Linked DNA regions of Homo sapiens: region 2 is linked to region 1. The links are contacts of gene promoters, found by promoter capture Hi-C in human tissues and cell types (Jung and others, 2019). All regions are on one chromosome and are shown on one strand. Each heading gives the region's core, a stretch centred on a gene start or on the middle of the fragment in contact. The rest is flanking DNA. Distances are from core to core; before and after follow the strand shown.

Region 1 (5,017 bases), core at 572-3,071:
AGTGGCTTGGCCAAGAACCAGCTAAGCAGCTAAGGCTTGTTCCATCTCTGCCAAGCTAGGACTCGCCTCCTCTCAACCTTGTGCCACATCCAGTTTTTGCTTCCAGGCTGGGGGCCTCTGATTGCTTACTCTAAGGGACAAAGGCAATTATTTACTAAAGCTAACCCCATCCAAGATGAGGAAAATACAACACTGGCACTCAGGAATTAATTTCACAATAAGTCTATGTTAAGGTGATGTTTTATTTGTGGCCCTGCCTGATCAAGATGACTTCCCCACAAGAAACGTCCAAAGCAAACAATCTTTTTTTTTTTTAAACTGAGTCTGGCTCTGAGACGTGAAGAATTGTACACTTCTTTAACTGTCCTCCAAAAGCAGAAAATAAGCCGGACAGAGCAGCCAGAAGGACACCAGAGTCCTATGCTCAGTGTGTCAGGAAGCGACCCACAAGTTCTGGAGGAACATCCTTCCAGGAAACTGGGCAGATACAGATCCCCCACCCCGCTCCGCCCCGCAAAAGGTAAGACGATCTGTACTCGGTTTGGTGACAAGCGTTCATCTGGACAAGCTGGAAACAAGTCTGAACGGGAGCTGCAGGCGCGCACGCCAGCGCCACCGAGGGAGCGCGGGGAGTCCTCTTCTCCCAGAGGACCGACGCTGCGGGGACGCGCCAAAACCACCCGCGGGCGATCCCAGGGGGCTGGCGCCACTGAAACCTCCGCAGGCAACTCCGCGGCTACCGCTGCCCCCCACCCTACTCCTGCCTCTTACCCCCAAGGCACCATTTCTCCCCCTCAACTCCCTGCCCCTCGGCCCAAGCGCTTCGGTGGGAAACAACGCCCACTTTGGAGAATCAGAGGTGAGTTGTGGGGACACGCCAGATGTCCAGATCGCATCCTTTCACAGATCAACCAAGTCAGATACAAACACGAAGGAGTTTGCTTCTCTGACATTTTAAAAACACACCATCAGGCAGCACACTGAGACACACACACGGGGGTAACAGCCACAGGGAAGTCAATAACCCACAGGGGGGCTCCTAACTATCGTTGTCCCGTGCTCGGGGCAGAGCGCTTGGGGTCCCTCCCTATCTCCAGGCCACAGCGCTCTCCTGCCCACTGCCTGTGCGCAGGATGGGAAACTACGGTCGCCCGGCTGCCGGAACCCAGAGTGGGCAAGCTGGGGAAAGGCCCACCTCCTCGTCCTGCTCCTCCTGGGACGCGCTGCTGCCCCGGGGCGCGGGCGGCACAGCTCCTCCGGGAAGCGGCGGCGGCAGCGCAAGGACTCCGCGCTCCAGCAGCACGCTTGCCGGAGCCCACGCGGCGGGCGCCCGGGCGCCCAGGGTGCCTCCCAACGGCGGCGGCGGCGGCGGCTGATGCTCTCTGGAGAAGCCGCCGGGCTCCCCTTCCTCCGACAGAGTTTCTGAGCCCGAGGAGGACTCGGCCGAGGAAGCACCCGGAGAGGACGCGGCGACCAGCGCAGAGGCTGGAGTCCGGCTGCCGTGGCCACTGCAGCCGCGGGGCACCGGCTCTGGCGCCTCCGAAACTTTCTCCCCCATTTCCCTGTCTGGCCCAAAGTGCCTCCCGAGCGGCGGGGGCGCGGCGCGCACTCAGCGCCTCCCGGGGAAGACGCGGGCTCCTGGGCTCAGGCTCACTGGCACTGCCGCTCCCGGGCTGCAGGGAGCCCCGCCAGCGACTACATGGCAGTGACGGGGCCGCAGGAGCCCGCTGCTAAGTTCACAGCCGCCCGGGCCCGGCCGCAAACGGAGGCTCCCGCGCGCGGGGACATGCCCGCTCGGGTCCGCGATCTGCGCTCCACTGTGCTCCCGCGCTGCACCCGAGCCGCGGGTACTGCGGCTTCTCCTTGCAAAACCTGCCTCCGGGACGGAGCAAGGAGACGGGCAGCCCGCAGAGCCAATGGCAGGGCAGGCGCGCTGGTGGGCGGAGGCTGCGACGCCTCCGGCCATGAGGGCCTCAGGTAGGGGAGGCGGGGCCCGGGCGCGGGCCGTGGTCCCGCTGGAGCGCCTGGGCGCAGGGGACAGGGACCAGGCGGGGGTCCCCGGAGGGTGGGGGCGGAGCCCAGAATCGGAGCCAAGGGCTGAGACTCCGAACTTAGCGGGGGAGTGGCTGACCGTCCTTGGGACGTCAGAGGGAGACGGCGAGCGGATGGTGAGACCTTGGAGAAGAACTGGACTTTGTCTCCAAAAAGTGGAATCAAGAAAACGGACAAGAAGGAGGGCTCTATAGGGAAAAAAGGAACCACACACACACAGTCACCCACGCACACGGACTCACCAGCGTGTTGGAGGAAAAGGACAGAAACTTCGTGGTATAGTGAGCGGACCCAAAGGGGAGTGACCTCTAATCTCTGCTTTTCCGTTTAAGCTCTTTGGGCCTCAGTTTCCTCAACTGTAAATGGCTACATTACTACTGGTCTTGGCAGGCTTAGAGCAAATATATATAATGCATCAGCAAAGTGCCTGGCTTGGATACACGGAGCGTTTTTAAAAGACTATTTCCTGTCTTTATTTCTGTTTGTAAACTAAAAAGTTAAGTCTGAGACTTGAACCTTTTGATAGGGAGGAAGATAAAAAAGTATGTCCTTGTATTTAATTAGGACCAAGCTCTGTAGTCCTACTCAAATTGTCTGTCTCGGTATGATCAGCTAAGCAGAGGATGAAAAGGATTCACTTTCCAATGTACATTCTCCTAGCCCTGGGTTGTAAACCAACAGGATACAGGACAGGTTGCTTCATTTTCCTTACCTCTAAGAACTAGGAGAAAGAACTTTCACTAAAGGTACCAATAGAGTACCCTTAAGTCCTTCCCTGGGGCTGGAGGATGCTGCCTGTCCGGTGACTGGAATTTCCTTGGAAGCCAGCACTCAGCTCAGCAGTGGGAAATAAATGATTCCTCTCTTGCCTTCAGCTCTAGTCCCATTCTGAGCTCTGGCACAGTGACCTGGGATGTAAATTCAACCGCCTCAGTTCCATGTACGTTGATGGAGATGTGTGCCAGGTGCAGGGGATACAAAGATTAATAAGTCAGGTCCCCTGCCCTTGAGCAGCTTATGGTCAAGCGAGAGATTGATACTGCATAATATAGCTCCCTTATCCATTTTAGAAGCTGTGATAAGTGATACAGGAAAAATGTGTGAGGGAGAAGAGGAAAGAGTTACAGAAAAACAGTAGCAGGTCCTTGAGCATCTTAGATTTCTCTTTGTCAGAGCAGCCTTGCCAAAGGTCCTTAAAAACTGGAGGACCCTAATTGAAAGCCCCTTCAGCTAATGAGCCTTTCATGCTATCATGGTATTTACAAGTGATACATCACACAGAGGGCTTCATCATATTGGACAGCAACCTTTGTCCTGATCAGTTTCCTCCCCTCAAGATGAAGGGGAAGGAAATACGTTTTGTCTATCTTGCTTCAGACAGCCATACTGCAAAATGGACTCCGGTTGTCAGGCTTTCATTGTGACGCTTCTGAATTATTCACAGGGATATGAAGACCTGCTGAGGCAAAAGGTCAAGTCTAGTGGCAGCTAAGTTGTGAGAGCAAGGCTAAAGAGAGAGCACAGTGGGGCAGTCCGAATTTAACCCGGGCCTCACAATTACTTTCCTATTTAGGAGTTCTGGTCTTTATCTGAGCCCCTACGTGGTTGATTCACCAGAGCTGAACTGAAATGACAATTTCAGCCATGCACATAAAAGAAGAGGAGGAGTTGCTTTTCAGTACATAGGGAAATAAGAAGCAAGGTCATGGTCTGAATAACCGACAGCAAGAATGACAATAGTTATTATCGCCTGAGTCCTCTGCATCTTCTCTGGATGGTCTCATTTAATCCTGGCAACAACCTTGTGAAACAGATTCTATTAGTCCCACTTTATTGATTAAGAAACTGAGGATCTGCAAAGGTCACACAGCAAGTAAGCAGTGGAGCTGTGGTTTGGAACCCAGCAACCTGATTCCAAGGCTGTCTTTCCTAGGCATTCTAGTATTAATACAATGCCACTCAAAACAGACAGCTTTTTCAAATATATATATATACCATATTATAAATATCCATAGGGAAGAAACTTTGCTGTATTGATTCAATCTGTAAAAGAAAATACTTGAGGAACATATTTGTTTTTCCCACAAACATTTTTAAGGTACTTACTATGTGCCAGGCAGGATTTTAAGCACTTTAAAATGTTAATATACTCAATTCTCATACCAGCCCAATGAGGTAGCTACTATTACTATTCTCATATCATATTTGTGAAATATGTGAAAACTATGACAGAGAAGTTAAGTAATTCAGCTAAAGTCACACAGCTAGCAAATGATGGACCCAGGATTCAGATTTGAACATTTGGTCCCAGCATTTGTGCTCTTAACCTCTACAGATCAAAGTCAAGTACTAGATCAGTATTTCTTGAACTTTTTAAACCTGAACCTCAAATAAGAAATATATTTCACACTGGAACTCATGACACATATGCATATGTACAAATACAAATAAAATGTCATGAGACAATACTTACCCATCCTTTAAGCAATGCACCCTGAAATTTATATTTTATTAAAAATAAAGATGCTAGTTGTAGTCCACTAAATAGATTTCAAACTCTACTTCAAAACTTGCAGTTTAAAAGTGTACTTGTTCATCTCCACACCCACCTGTGAGGGAAATAAACTGTAGTTCAGGCTAAGAGTATCCAGACCAGAACATGGCCAACTCAAAGGATAACTATAAATAGAAGATGACTAGAGAGTCAGGATAGTTCCCCAAAAGTATCCTAGTTAGACCCATGGATAAATTTCCTGGGGTGTGGCCAAACCACTGGACCAAAATCAGTTTTGATTTATCCAAATCCTGAAGTTCAACTTTCCTATCTTGTTAATTAAATAATAAATATTTTCCTCAGTGGTCAGAAATGTGCCCCCTCCAAGAGACCTTTTTATAAACGTGTCTAGTGTTGGAGACTGTGGGACCAGAGGTGAGTGTGAAAGCACAGGTTTTTCTCTGCAGTGTC
Region 2 (5,192 bases), core at 1,458-3,957, 50 kb after region 1:
CTCACAGTTCCTCATGGCTGGGGATGCCTCAGGAAACTTACAATCATGGTGGAAGGTGAAGGGGAGGCAAGCTGGGACTTCTCACATGGCAGCAGGAGAGAATGTGAGTGCACAGGAAAAACTACTATTTATAAAACCATCAGTTCTTGTGAGAATTCACTCATTATCACAAGAACAGCATGCAGGAAACTACCCCCATAATCCAATCACTTCCGTTCCTCGACACATGGAGATTACAGGTCCCTCCCTTGACCTGTGGGGATTACAATTCGAGGTGAGTTTTGGGTGGGGACACAGAGCCAAACCATAACAGCTGGGATCATTAGGGGCCATCTTAGAAGGTGCCTACTACACAGATGTTGAACAGCAGATATCAAGAGACTGTGATTCCTGACAGAGGGTAAACAAATAAGGTCAGCTGAATAATTGTACCAGTTTATTGCTTAGGAGGCAATTTAGACTGCAGTGCAGAGATGAGGAAATCAAAATTCAGTAGTCTCTTTGAGGTAAAAACACAGGAAGAGGAGTTCAGGGAGGCTGAGGCAGTAAAATATTGTTGGTCAAAGTACTAGTTGCCCAGAGAAAAAGCTCACGAGATCTATAGAGGGGTCCTCTTGAGTCTTTGGCTGCATACCCATCTGTGTGTGTCTGAGCAGAAACTATCTGAGGCCAGGAAAATAACCATCAGGATATTTAGGCAGAACAATTCCCAGAGTTTATACAGAGTAAGAGTGGAAAGTACTCATAATCTATAAGTTGTAGGATGGAATCAGATATTCTTTAGCCCCATACTACTAAAGGCCACTCTTTTAATTTAGCAAAACTTAAAATGAAGTCTTTAAAAGATTCGAATGATTCCAAGTAAATTAATTGTACACCAGGACAAAAATCCAACACTATTAAAAAGAATACCACAAAATCCAGCAATCAACAATGTAACCAATAACCAATTAACAGGCTTACAATAAAGTAGGAAAATAAGAACTAAATGCATGAGAAAACTCGATTAACAGAAATAGCCTGAAATGACAGAGATGGTGGAACTAGCAGACAAGAATCTGAAAAAAAAAATGTTAGAACAGCTATTATAAATATCCTGTATATGTTTAAGAAGATAAAGGAAAACATGACCATGATATGGAGAAAAAAATTAATTATATAAAACAGATCCAAATAAACTACTGAAGAAAAAAACTAACATCTTAAATAAAAAATACACTGTGTAGAATTAATAGTAAATAGACACTGAAAAGGAAAGAGCAATAAATTTTAAGGCATAATAATGGAAATAACCAAAATGAAACAGAAAAACAAATGAAAAAATAAGAAGAGGGTAATAGTGACCTGTGGGACACTATCAAGTGGGCCAATATATGTGTAATTAGAGCCTCAGAAAAAAAGAGGGGAGGGAACAAAAAATATTTAAACAATGGTCAAAATTTTCCAAATTTAATAAAACCTATAAACTTTCAGATTCAAGAAGCTCAATTTATTCAAGCAGAATGAAATAAAGAAAATATACTTTGCCACATTATAATTAAATTACTAAAATCAATTGATAAAGAAAAAATTTTTTAAAGTAGCCAGAGAAGAAAGATATGTAAAAAGGGATAATGACAAGAATGGTATCAAGCTTCTTACAAGAAACTATGCAAGTCAGAAGACAATGGTAAGCCATCTTTAACATATGAAAAGAACAAAATGTCAATCTAAAAATCTTTCCTGGGGAGGTGGGGATGGTTAATGAGTATAAAATATAGTTAGAATGAATGAATAAGACCTACTATTTAATACCACAACAGGGTGACCATAGTTGATAACAACTTAATTGTACCTTTAAAAATAATGTAATTGGATTGTTTGTAACACAAAGAACAAATGCTTCAGGGGTTGGATACCCCATTCTCCATGATGTGATTATTACGCATTGCAGGCCTATATTAAAACATCTCATGTACCCCATAAATATACACACTTACTATGTAGCCACAAAAATTAAAAATAAACTAATTTAAATAAAAATAAAAAATCTTTACTCATAAAAATATCTTCAAATTTGAAAGCAAACTAGAGATATTTTAAACAACTAAAATTCATTACCAACAAACATGAATTATAAGCAAAATTAAAGGAAGTTCAATGATACCAGATGGAAATCCATAAAGTACTAAAGAGAGCCAGAAATGGTAAGTATGTGAGTAAATACAAAATATTGCTTTTATCTCTTTTTAAAAATCGTATACAAAAAATATTGACTGTTTAAAGTAAAAAAAAAATATTCTAAACATGTAAAACAAACCATATGAAGAAGTAAAATTTATAGCAACAATTACACATAGTGAAAGTACAGAAGTGCAAGTAACGGGTACAAGGTTCATAAACCATATGTAAAATGGTATAATATTATTTGACATTAGTCTTTGATAAAATAAAAATGTATACTGTAAACATTAGAATAACCATTAAAAATAAATAAAACAAACAGGTATCACTAAGAAGCCAAGAGTGGAAATAAAATGAAATCATTTAAAAAGTATTAATCTAAAAGAAGACTGGAAATAGAAAAGAAATGAGTAGATAGAACAAACATAAAAACAAATAGTCAAATATTATATTTAAGCCCATCCATAGAAATAATTACATTAAATGTAAATAGCCTAAGTACTTTAATTAAAAGGCAGAGATTTTAAGAAAAAGAGCAAGACCCAACTGTGTGATGCCTTTACAAAAAAAAAAAGAAACTAACTTTAAATGTACAGACAAAAATAGGTTAAGAGTAAAAGAATTGAAAAATATTTACCATGCAAACACTAAGTACAAAAAGCCAGAATAGCTGTGTTAGTATCAGACAAAATAGACTTTAGAGCAAGCTTGTCTAAATCATGGCCTGTGGGCTGCATGCAGCCTAGGATGGCTTTGAATGCAGCCCAGCACAAATTTGTAAACTTTCTTAAAACATTATGAGGTTTTTTTTTTTTTTTTGCTATTTCTTTTTTTAGTTCATCAGCTATTTTTACTGTTAGTGTATTTTATATGTGGCCCAAGACAATTCTTCTTCCAGTGTGGTCTAGGGAAGACAAAAGATTGGACAGTCCTACTTTAGAGCAAGAAATAATACATTTCATAGTAAGGAGAGGATAATTCACAGAAAGACATAAAAATCCTAAAGGTATATGCATATAATAATAGACCTTCAAAATACATGAAGTATAATAAAACTGATAGAACCAAAAGAAGAAATAGATAAAACCAAAATTATATTGGAGATTTTAAAATTCTAATCTTAGTCATTGATAAAACAAGTAAACAGGAAATAATAAAGGTATAGAAGACTTAATCAACACCATCAACAAATTAACATAATTGATTCTGTTTGAAACTATGTTTAATAGTCACCCAATAATAGCAGAATACATATTTTTAAAGCACACATTGAAATTCACCAAAATAGATAATATTCTGAGCCAAAACAAGTCTTTAATAAATTGAAGTCACATGACATATGTTTTCTGACCACAAAAGAATGAAACTAGAGATAAATACCAAAAAGATATCTGGGAAATGGTCAAATATTTAGAAATTATACAATACTTCTAAATAACAAATGAAAACAAAGAAGAAACTATAAGAGAAATGAGAAATATTTTTAAATGGAATAAAAATGAAAACAAAAAATATCAAAATGTGTGGGATGCAGTTTAAAATGTCCTTGGAGGGGAATTTATAGCATTAAATGCTTATGTTAGAAAAGATAAAAGATCTCAATTTAATTATCTAAGCTTCTCATCTTAATAAACAAGAAAAATAAGAGCAAATTGTAACTAAAATAAGTAGAATAAAAGAAATAAAAAGACAAGAGCAGAAATAAATGAAACAAAAAAAAAAACTGGAGAAAAATCAGTGAAACAAAAATGTGGTTATTGAAAAGATCAATAAAATTGATAAGGCTCTAGCCAGACTGATTACTTTAAAAATATATAACACAAATTACCAATATCAAGAGTTATCTTATGAATGTTAAAAGGATAAGAAAATATTATGCATAATTTTTACCAATAATTTTGACAACTTAGATTAGTAGGATCAATTCCTTGAAAGATAAAAATAATCAAAGCTCATCCAAAAGGTAGACCATTTGAACAGTCTATCTAGAAAAGTAACTGAATTTGTAATTTGACCTTCTCACAAAGAAAATGTCAAACCTAGACTGTTTCATTGATGAACTCTACCAAACACTTAAGAAAGAAATAATACAAATTCTATTCTAGTATTTCCATTTTAAGAAGTCAGCATTGTCTTAATTTTAATACCAAAACAAAAACATTCAAAGAAAGGAAAGCAACGGAACTAATATCCCTCTTAAATAAAGGTCCAACAATAATAAAATTTTAATAAGATTTTAGCAAATTAAACCCAGCTATATATACAATGTATAATATATCGTGACCATGTGGATATCATTCCAAGAATGTAATGTTAGTTTAACTTTGAAAATCAATTAATGTAACCCACAATATTAGCAAACTAAAAACAAACTGAAAAACCAAACATATGGTGATCTCAATAGATGTCAGGAAAAGATTTGACATAATCCAGCATCTAAGAATAATAACTCACAGCCAGATAGAAATAGAAAGGAACTTCTTTAGCCTGATAAAGGGCATGTACAAAAAACTCTACAGCTAAAATCATGCTTAAAATCATGCAGAAAGGCAAGAAAAGAAATAAAAGGCATATAGATTGGAAAGAAAGCAGTAAAATTACAATGGACAGTAGAAAGAAATAAAATATGTATTAGGAAGGAAGCAGTGAAACAGGCCGTGTAAAAAGTCCTAAAAAATGTAAAAAGATAGCTACTAGTACAAATAAGTGATTTTTACAAGGTTATAGAATACAAAGCTAATATACAAAATCAATTGTAATTCTAAACACTATTAAGGAACATTTGGAAATTAAACTTAAAAAATCCAACAGCATTTATAACAGCACTAACATATGAAAGACTTACATATTAATTTAACAAAATATGTACAATATTTGTACAATGAAAATTGTAAAACATTGCAGCAAGAAACTTAAAAAGATGTAAAATGGAGAAGTATACCATGCTTATGCATTAGAACATTTAATTTTGTAAAGATGTCAATTCTTTCCAAATTGCTGTATAGATTCAATGCAATCCCAAACTCTCA

Evidence for each region. Contacts are between HindIII fragments. The study calls those that stand out against the background at their distance.
Region 2: a contact is called between a fragment that was not itself captured here and the fragment with the promoter of MAST4 in region 1, in 1 of the 25 tissues and cell types used here (liver).

What each region holds. Positions count from the first base shown.
Region 1 is chr5:66,593,197-66,598,213 of GRCh38, reverse strand. MAST4 (microtubule associated serine/threonine kinase family member 4) reads right to left here and starts at 1,821. Exons shown (of 29, transcript NM_001164664.2): 1 at 1,196-1,821. The coding sequence starts at 1,558. RefSeq lists silencers at 1,076-1,225, 1,236-1,375, 1,986-2,185. The HindIII fragment of the contact is 9,602 bases long and covers 1-5,017 here.
Region 2 is chr5:66,544,248-66,549,439 of GRCh38, reverse strand. No RefSeq gene overlaps it. Among named protein-coding and RNA genes, the nearest start is that of LINC02229, 35 kb to the right of the region's middle. The HindIII fragment of the contact is 4,535 bases long and covers 440-4,974 here.